Regions from separate parts of the Homo sapiens genome. Here all the other regions are linked to region 3. Evidence: promoter capture Hi-C in 16 types of primary human blood cells and fetal thymus (Javierre and others, 2016). All regions are on one chromosome and are shown on one strand. Each heading gives the region's core, a stretch centred on a gene start or on the middle of the fragment in contact. The rest is flanking DNA. Distances are from core to core; before and after follow the strand shown. Region 1 overlaps PITPNM2 (phosphatidylinositol transfer protein membrane associated 2). Region 2 overlaps PITPNM2 (phosphatidylinositol transfer protein membrane associated 2). Region 3 holds the start of PITPNM2 (phosphatidylinositol transfer protein membrane associated 2).

Region 1 (3,010 bases), core at 395-2,894, 93 kb after region 3:
TCCACCCTTCTGGGGGCATTAGTGGGTGTGTATGGCCAGGTGCTAAAGGGCCAGAAGGTGGTAAAGCTGGGACAGTACTCCTGACTGCAGAGAGTACAGACCGAACCCTGGAAGTGAAGTCACAGAGCCTTGTGGGCATCTGGCTTCCCAGGCAGTTCCTCCCTGACCTTCTCTGGGCCCTCTGCCCCACATCCGAGACCTTTTACCAAATTCAGGCTATGTAGCTCAGTGCTGCTACGGAAAGGGGCAGGGGCTGAGCCACACAGGAGGTGGCTGGTTGACTCACTGCTCTCCAGATGGCCCTTGGAAGAGCCCCCAGAAAAGGTCCCATGCTTGTGAGCTCCTCCTCTCTGACTGGAAACACATGGGCTCTTCAGCCTGTGATATCCTTGGTTGGCCTTCTCCCTGCCTGGTTCTCTCCCTGCCTAGATGCTGACCTCTGCCCCCACAGCTGTGCCTCTCCTAAGTACTTATGGAGATCTGTAGAGCACCTCGCTGTGGGCTTGGCCCTGAAGATGCAGAAATGAAGCAGATGCGGGTGCTGCCCTGAGCTTCATGGTTTGGGCCCAGACAATGGGAATGGGGTGTGGTGGGAGCTGGGGCTGAGGTGCTCTCAATGCACCTGGGCACTCAGCTTTGCCCAGAGTAGTCTCGGAGGGCTTCTCAGAGTGAGTGCTGTGTAAGCTGATTCTTAATAGACACTTCGAGAATTTTCCAGGTGGACCCCGTGGGAAAGGGCTTTTTCCACAAAAGAACCAGCAGGGGTTGAGCACTTGAGCAAATGCCTCAGGCAACAGTTACCAGCTTCTACAGCGCTTGGGGCCTTGAGCAAATGCCTCAGGCAACAGTTACCAGCTTCTGCAGTGCTTGGGGCCGAGGTGTAAGAGGCAGGTGCTGCTCTTGAGGGCTTTGGAGCTGAGGACCGCAAACAGGGAACAACAAGAATGACAGCAGGGAACAGCAGGTGAATGGTGGAGTGAGAGAGGCCCTGGAGAGGCTGTGGGTGGGGCATGATGGCTTCCAGTGACATTCTGGGGAGCTGGCAAACATGGTTGCATCTGCATTGGGAAGATGTCCTCTAATGGTTTCTAGAAGGAGGATTTCAGAGGAACCAAACTGGAAACATAGAGGCCAATTAGAAGGCTGTCTCTGACACCCAGGGAGTGCTGGTGAGGGCCAGAATCAAAAGGGATGGAGGCAGAAGGCAAATTAGAGGGAGACATAGCAGGTGTTCTTCCCATGGCTCAGCCATGGGTGACTTGGAATTCTTGGGGAGGGGACCCCATGGTGGCATTGGAGACGGAGACCTGGTATACACCCTGACCACCTCCCTGGCAGCCCTACAACCTTGGCTGAATTGTCTGATCTCACCTGGCCTTGGTTTATCCTTCCGACAAAATGCCCAAAAAGAAGAAGTGAAGAACGTGGGTTCGTAAGTACTTTGAAGAGTAAAAGGTCAGGGGATGAAGGCATAGTTTGTTTTTTGCTGCCTAGTGGCCCAGAGAGGAGGTAGCACCTGTCAGGTGTACAGGAGGGGTCCCTGGGACTTGGGGCCCAGCTGGCACGGAGGGTCACATTCCAACCTCTGGATCCCTTGGATCTGCAAAAGGGTTCCAGTTCCCCTCTCCAACTCTGAGAGCAGCTGCACCTGATTCCCCCAGGGCCTTAGCTGTACCTCCTCCTCTGTGGTTAATAATTCAGGACAAGCCAGATGGCTCTGCTTTCCCCCTCCTTCTTTCCCATAGCCTCCTAGGGCTTGTTCCTCAACTAGGGGTGGGCGTCGCGGTGGGGAGCCCAGGAGGCTCAGCCGCTTGTAACTCAGATGAACCGTCACCACCAGAGCCTACAGCCTCTATGTGCCCTGGGGCTTCAGGTTCTGGCCGGGCGCCCCAGCTTTGGTGTCCATAGGCCCATTGCCTGGGGAAGTGGAGAGAGCACTTAGAAACCACAGGTCCTGCCTCCCGCCCAGCTCTGATTTCAGATGCGGTCTTGTCTACGGCACTTTGTAAATACTTGTAGGGTGAGGAGACCAATGGTACCATTTGCACCCTCAGAGACATTCTTTCCTTAGTTCTTCTGAATGTTCCTGTTAGGAAGAAGTTCTTTTTGTTTGTTTTTGAATTTAAATTTTTTTTTTTTTTTTTTTGAGATAGAGTTTTGCTCTTGTTGCCCAGGCTGGAGTGCAATGGTGTGATCTCGGCTCACCGCAACTTCTGCCTCCCGGGTTCAAGCGATTCTCCTGCCTCAGCCTCCCGAGTAGTTGGGATTACAGGCATGTGCCACCATGCCTAGCTAATTTTGTATTTTTAGTAGAGACGGGGTTTCTCCGTGTTGGTCAGGCTGGTCTTGAACTCCCAACCTCAGGTGATCCACCCGCCTCGGCCTCTCAAAGTGCTGGGATTGCAGGCGTGAACCACCACGCCTGGCCTGAATTTAGATTTTTAACCTGAAGTTGCCCTGAAGATATGCTCCCCGGTTAGGAAGGAATTCTCACACACACTCAGACGCGCTTTTCTCTTTCACATTTGGGATCCGAGGCTTCTGAGTACTCTGACTTGTCCAAGGCTGAGCAGCAGATCGGTGGCCTCTACTCCCAGTTCACACCTGCTTGGTTCCCATTCAAGGCCAGGGGCTAGACCTCAGTGAACTGCCACCTCCTGGGTCTGCAAAGTCCTGCAGGGACCTGCAGGTTGTCCCCATTCTCTGTGATTCTTAGCACCCATCTTGATAGGATCTTGGGCACAGGACCCCTGATTGGGCTGGGTATGGAGAGAGCCAGGCCCTGAGGCTATCCCAGCCCCTGGCCTGGGGCATCCCGGGAGAGGACAGGGACAGTGTCCAGTGTCACCCAGTGCAGGGAGAGACTTTCTTTGTCAACCCAGGAGGGCTTGTTAGAAGAAGAGGGCCGGGCAGCTCAGCTCTTTCCCTCTTCGTGTCCGGCAGCAGGAGGCCACTCCTGGGTCTGGGCCTCCTGGAGTTGGCAAGAGCTGCTGACTGAGAACCTGACCCA
Region 2 (2,776 bases), core at 71-2,570, 110 kb after region 3:
CTGTTCCAGACATGTGCTCACAGAGCCTTTGAAATCAGAGACCCAAGCCAGTGTCTGGGTGCTGGCTCAGGCTGCGAGATTTCACCCCTGGTTGTTATTTGAGGTGATGGAGACATTTAAGGAACATTATGAATCTGGCTCAGGGGGTCCTACCTTGCTAGTGCCTGGTGAGCCTGGAATCTGAGAGGATTGAGAAAGGACTGATTTGCATGGGGATGAGCAGGGCAGGTCATGTACGCTGGAGGGGTTAAGACTCCCAAAGGGCAGAATGCTTAGACTCGTAAGGTTTCTGAAGAACATTTAGAGTCTGTGTCTGACCATGTTATTTAGATGACTAAATGAGACTTGCCCACTCTGGGTCACTGCATTTGCCCCACAGTAAAGGAGCCCACCTGAGGCCCCACAGAGGCGGAGTGGGTGCTGCACGTCACACAGGTGTACTGCTTCACACCAAGCACCTGCTGTGCCTTCCTAGTTGGGCGATGCTGGGGCTTCAATGAAGAACCACGTGAAGAAGCTTCAGAAACAACCCCCATTGAACTTCAATTTTCCCTTCCCGTCTCCAACCCTAATTTCCTCCAACTTCCCTCAAACATAAAGCTCTCTCTCCTTTATGTATGTAAGTTTCTCAGATCAGGTGCCTGTGCTACCCTCCCAGCCAGCTGGAAGTCCATCCAGGTGTCAGACTTGGGTCCCTTGCTACTTCGGCCCAGCCAGCTCTTGTTTCACACCTCACAGGATAAGGTGCAGCCTGGGGACTGTAGGGCCATTGCTTCTCTCTCCTGTGTCCTCAGCTTCCAGCCAGGTGTGAGAATAGACATGTGGGCCTAGGCGGAGCTGAGTCTGGGAGTATGGGGAAGAACTCCACAGGGCCTCAGGCCCTAAACTTGCAGGTCCCATGGGCTGTTAGCTAGACCCATTGACCTTGAAGAAGGTCAGCAATGGTCTTTTTTCACTTGAGCACAGCCTCTGGGGAGCTTTGGGGTTGATCAGGGATCAGAAAGGCTGGTGGACAGGTCGCAGGAGAGGGGAAGCCCCTCCTAGCAAGAGTCCTTATGGATATAGCAGGGCCTGGGGCCACCCCAAGGAGGGGAACAGGGCAAGGAAACTTCCCAGAGAGAGGGGAGCTAGAGGGGATTTCTGTGTCCAGGTGATGCTGCTCAGCAGCACCATGGGGAGTCTGGGTCAGAGACCTCCAAGGGGCAGTTGGGGTCTGGGATCCAGGGTTATCTTATCTACAGCCAGCAGATGTTGGGTGCAGTTTCTGGGGTATATAAAGTATCTAGGCTCTAATCGGCTAAAAAAGAGCTTCACTTGGACTATATTTAAAGCAACTGGATGTGAGAATTGGGTTCTTTTTTAATAGAGAGGAGGGTCTTGCTATGTTTCCCAGGCTGGTCTTGAGCTTGCTTGACCTCAAGCAGTCCACCTGCCTTGGCATCCCATAATGCCAGGATGGATGTGAGAATTTGAATGGGCTTCGGGCTGACGTTCCTACCTGCTGTGAACTAAACAACTGGGAGCCGCTGTTTTAGGCTAGCACAAGGGATGGAGCCCCTTTATCAGACCTTTCCTCTCTCTGTCTTTCTCCCTAAGTGGCTTATTTAAGAACTTCTTTTAACCCTGTCTACTGGTATTCCTGAGAGTTCTGATAAATGTTTTTCTCAACCTTGTTAGCTACCCAGTAATGCTTTAGCACCTGGGTGATACTCCAATGCCCGATAGAGAGCCGTGCCCTGGGGAAGTTGCCTGACTGGCCAGGCCCTTGCTTTTATCACTTAGCAGGAGTCCTGCCCATGGTCACTGTGAATCCTCCCTGGCTGCTGTCCTTGGAGTAGTCTTGCTAAAATACTACCGTTAGCCGGGTGTGGGTGGCGTGCATCTGTAGTCCCAGCTACTCTGGAGGCTGAGGCAGAAGGATAGCTTGAGCCCAGGAGATCAAGGCTGCAGTGAGCTGGGATTGCACCACTGCACTCTAGCCTGGGTGCAGAGTGAGACCTTGTCTCTAAACAATAAATAAATGTAAAATTTATTTATCATCCATCCTGAAAACCTTCACTTGGCTTCATGTTAACAGCATGTGACCTTTGGAGGTGACCAAATGATATTTATGGCAAAGCTTCAGCCATCTGGGGCTTGGGTTTTAAGGGGTGATTTCATTTTCCGGATAACTGAGTATGCGCCTCTTCCAAGCACCAAGTTTTTGTTTTTTTTTTTGAGACGGAGTTTCACTCTTGTCCCCCAGGCTGGAGTGCAATGGCGCGATCTCAGCTCACTGCAACCTCCGCCTCCTGGGTTCAAGCGATTCTCCTGCCTCAGCCTCCCAAGTAGTTGGGACCACAGGCTCCTGCCACCACCTGCGGCTAATTTTTGTGTTTTTAGTAGAGACGGGGTTTCACCATGTTGGCCAGTCTGGTCTTGAACGCCGAACCTCAAGTGATCTGCCTACCTTGGCCTCCCAAAGTGCTGGGATTACAAGTGTGAGCCACTGTGCCCGGCCCAGTTAAAAAAAAATGTGATTGCTTAGGGACAAATCTTCATCAAATATATTCTTTGTCACTTAAATAGAGGTGGCTATGAGCACACTCTCTGCTTATCTTGTCTCATCTACTTCCCAGACATAGCCCAATGGAAGGAATAAAATAGATGCCAATAAATGTTTCTTATTGGATTGAACTGAAACCAAACGTTAAATCACTCAGAGTCTCCCCCTTGGGATGTAGTGATGTCATCTGCCCCTAATGGCATGGCTCAGACTGCTGACTTGTGAATGTCT
Region 3 (3,129 bases), core at 398-2,897:
TCCTGCCCTGCCAAGAGCTCTATGGTAGTTTGATAATAAACTACTACCCCAGTATTCTTAGGAACTGTGTTACTAAGTCTTTTCTGCCTGATTTGTACTTTATTTCCATAGACCCCTCAGATATGTGAGGAATCAAGCCATAAATGTGCATTTGCTGGACATTATGTACCATGTCATCTCTATGACTACAGATTTCAAGGATAATTTTTACATCTAACAATTTCACTGTAACAGTGACCGATAATGTGAGAAATGTGCTTTTTACAGTGCTGCTGGTGGGTAGACAAGTGCTTGCTGCAGTTGTTTCTGAATCTAGCCAGATGCTGGAGTCGTGAAGCTGTAAGCTCCGCGGGAGCAGGGACCATCTCTCTTTCTTGCACTACAGGCACTCAATAAATACTTGTGGCTGTGAACTGGCGTGTGGCCTTTGTGTGTTTATTTCTGCTAGCTGGCTGCAGGAGCGGGTTGTTGGTGATTTTAAGTCCCAGGCATAGAGAAGTCCTTGAGTTATGGGTTAAGGGGCGTCCATCCAGGAGCACAGTTCCCGTTGGGACTCTGTGGGCTCCGCAGATCTTTCTGGATGGATCCTAGGGCACCTCTTGGTGGAGGGAAGGAGCTGAAGCGTTCTAGGTGATGGTGGTACGCCTTGGTCCTCCTCTGCGTGGTCATGGTCAGGGGCACCTGGAGGCGAGTCGGGAACGATGGCCTTCCTGGCCCGTTCAGTTGGGTTCTGCCGTGACCCCAGGAGGTGAGCAGCTGTCAGGGGCTCGGCCTCCCCGGCTTCATCTGGAGTCATCTAGGCCGCCTTAATTTTAGCTTGTCCTCTCTCCTCCAGGGGAGCACCGCCGTCTCCTCAGCCTTATAAGGTGACAAGTAGGGATGGGTCACACATCACTAAGTTTTAGGTGTGCTCTCTTTAGTTCCATGACTTCAGATTTTGCCAAACAAGTCCACCCTGGCTCAACCTAACAAACACCTCATGTTTTTAAGGAATGTCACCAGGCGCTCCCCCACCGGGGGCTCTTCCCATTGGAGAGCCCTGTCGTGCCAGATCATCCGGATTAAACTGTTCGTGATCCTCTTCCAGCTACTCCCTGAGGTGGGGACCGGGACGGCTGCGCTCCCGGCTCTGCCGTTCCCTGGGCCGCGGCCCGGGCGTCCTGAGGGGAGAGCGCGGACCCACCGTGTGGCGAGCACCGCGCCCGGGGCTGGGCTTCGGTGAGCTGCCCGCTGCGCTCTGCCCTCCCTGGTTTACCATTTCGCTCCTAAGAAACTTCATTTTTTAAAATGAGGCTGTTTTAAGAGTCACAGTGGCCGCAAGTCGGCCGGTTCCCGCCCCCGAGTGCGCTCGGCTGCTGCGGACGGTGGGCGAGGAGCCCGGGGCGGGGATCCGCGCCGCCGCCCCCGAGTCCAGTCCCGGGCCCTGAGGACACGGGCGAGCCGGGGAGGAGCGGGGTCGCCGCGGCAGGTCTGAGGAACCAGGCGGGCTGCCCGAGTCGGAGAGGTTTCTTCCGGCGGAGGCGGCGGGGCCGGGCCGAGACTCCGCAGGGACGCGCCCCCGCCGCCGCCGCCGCCGCTCCCCCGCGCGGCCTGAGGAGGCGCCGCCGCCACTGAGGGAATGCGAGCCCGGCCCGGCGCGCGCGGGCAGCAGCGGCCGCTGGGGTGCGCGGGGCACCGCGGCGCCGCGGCGTAGAGCTGTCCAGCCGGCCCCGGCCGCCCGCCCGGCGCTTCCTTCTCAGCTCGCGGCCGCCTCAGCGAGAGCCGCCCGCCAGCACGTGCGCCGCCGCCGCCCGCCTGCGACGCTCGGGAGCAATGCCCGCCGGGGCTCTGCCGCTCGCCCGGGGCCAGCAGGCGGCGGGGGCGCGCGGGGCGCAGCCGGCCGGGCCGGGGCCGCGGGGCGGGCGCTCCCCGTGAGGCGGCGTGAGGTGGCGGCGGCCCAGCCGGGGCCCCGAAGAGGACAGAGCCCGCGGCCGCGCCGAGCGGGGTGAGTGCGTCCGGGCGGCCGCTCCGCAGGCCCGCGGTGAGTCCCGCAGTGCCGGGCGCTGGCCGGGGACCTGGGGATCTGGGCGGCGGCTCCCAGAGAGGCCCCGGCCCGCCCGCCCGCCGAGCCTCCAGCCCGCCGGGGGCTGGAGGAGGGAGCGGAGACCCGGGCAGGGAGGAGGGTGTGGCGTACGGGAGCCCCGCTCGGGAGACCGCCCGAGCCTGGCCTCAGTGAGTCGCCGGCCCTGGATCCGTGCCCGAAACGCTGATTTCCGAATTTCCGTCGGTCGCGACCGCGTGGGGGACCCCCGCCAGGGACAAGTGTCATAGCGGTCGGGGGGCAGGCGTGGGCAGTGCCGGTGCCAGGGCGAGGAAGGGGCTATCGGGAGGAAGCGGAGGTGAGCCCCCGGCCCGCCTTCTCTGCTTCCCGCCTCCAGCTGAACGTCCCCAGGCCCGGGCCGTGGCCTCTGCTTGTCGGGGGCCCAGGGTTGGGGTGTGGCCCGTCTCCATCCTCAGTGCCCCCTTCGTGTGGTAATGGGGTGCCGGCTCTGTCTTCTTCCCACCCCGAATCCTTTCTTATCCGTGGCAGGGCTGATCGGGGGGCCTTGGGGAGAGGGAAAGTTCAGTGTCCCCCGCCCCAGTGTGCACTGCCTCCCCGCAAGAAATCCCAAACGGCCACTCCAGGTGAACATAGTGCGCGCGGTGCAAATGTCATTTCAAGGCAAGTCCTCCAGGCTTGTCCCCTTTCCACCGACTTGCTCCTGCAGAGACATCCTGCACTCCTCTCCCTCCCACTGAAGTGTGGGCTGGGTGCCTCTCCAAACACCCCGGCCTACCTGCCTCCCCCACCCAGAGTCGGGATTCTTCAAAGGAGACCTCACTGGAACATCTGTCTTTGTCCACAACCAGCTCTCTCCCCGGCCTCCACCTGGGAGTGACCAGAGCTGCTAGGATAGACCCCCCACTTCTGGAGGGAAGGCAGTAAGTGCTCCCCTTCATCTGAATCTCCCCTAACATCCATCCCCCAGACTCCTCTCTGCTCTGAACTCCCACTGCCTGCTATCTGTATCTCCTGTGTAACTCTTATCACCGTCTGCCTTATTTTATAGTTACTTTTCCATCTGCCTTATCTCCCCTGCTGGACGGTGA

What was found. The method cuts DNA at HindIII sites, captures the fragments that hold promoters and counts their contacts. A CHiCAGO score of 5 or more calls a contact.
Region 1: a fragment that was not itself captured here is called in contact with the fragment with the promoter of PITPNM2 in region 3 in 3 of 17 cell types (fetal thymus, endothelial precursors and megakaryocytes); the score reaches 7.0 in fetal thymus.
Region 2: a fragment that was not itself captured here is called in contact with the fragment with the promoter of PITPNM2 in region 3 in 7 of 17 cell types (megakaryocytes, fetal thymus, endothelial precursors and 4 more); the score reaches 12.9 in megakaryocytes.

Annotation. Positions count from the first base shown.
Region 1 is chr12:123,056,517-123,059,526 of GRCh38, reverse strand. The region is part of intron 2 of PITPNM2 (phosphatidylinositol transfer protein membrane associated 2); the gene reads left to right. Among named protein-coding and RNA genes, the nearest start is that of PITPNM2-AS1, 23 kb to the left of the region's middle. RefSeq lists an enhancer at 532-1,033. The HindIII fragment of the contact is 3,331 bases long and covers 1-3,010 here.
Region 2 is chr12:123,035,108-123,037,883 of GRCh38, reverse strand. All of the region lies in intron 2 of PITPNM2 (phosphatidylinositol transfer protein membrane associated 2), which reads left to right. Among named protein-coding and RNA genes, the nearest start is that of MIR4304, 26 kb to the right of the region's middle. The HindIII fragment of the contact is 1,602 bases long and covers 520-2,121 here.
Region 3 is chr12:123,149,608-123,152,736 of GRCh38, reverse strand. It overlaps PITPNM2 (phosphatidylinositol transfer protein membrane associated 2), which reads left to right and starts at 1,647. Exons shown (of 26, transcript NM_020845.3): 1 at 1,647-1,984. It also overlaps a transcript of MPHOSPH9 not described here. RefSeq lists silencers at 1,264-1,463, 1,484-1,743, 1,764-1,903, 2,004-2,093. The HindIII fragment of the contact is 4,737 bases long and covers 1-3,129 here.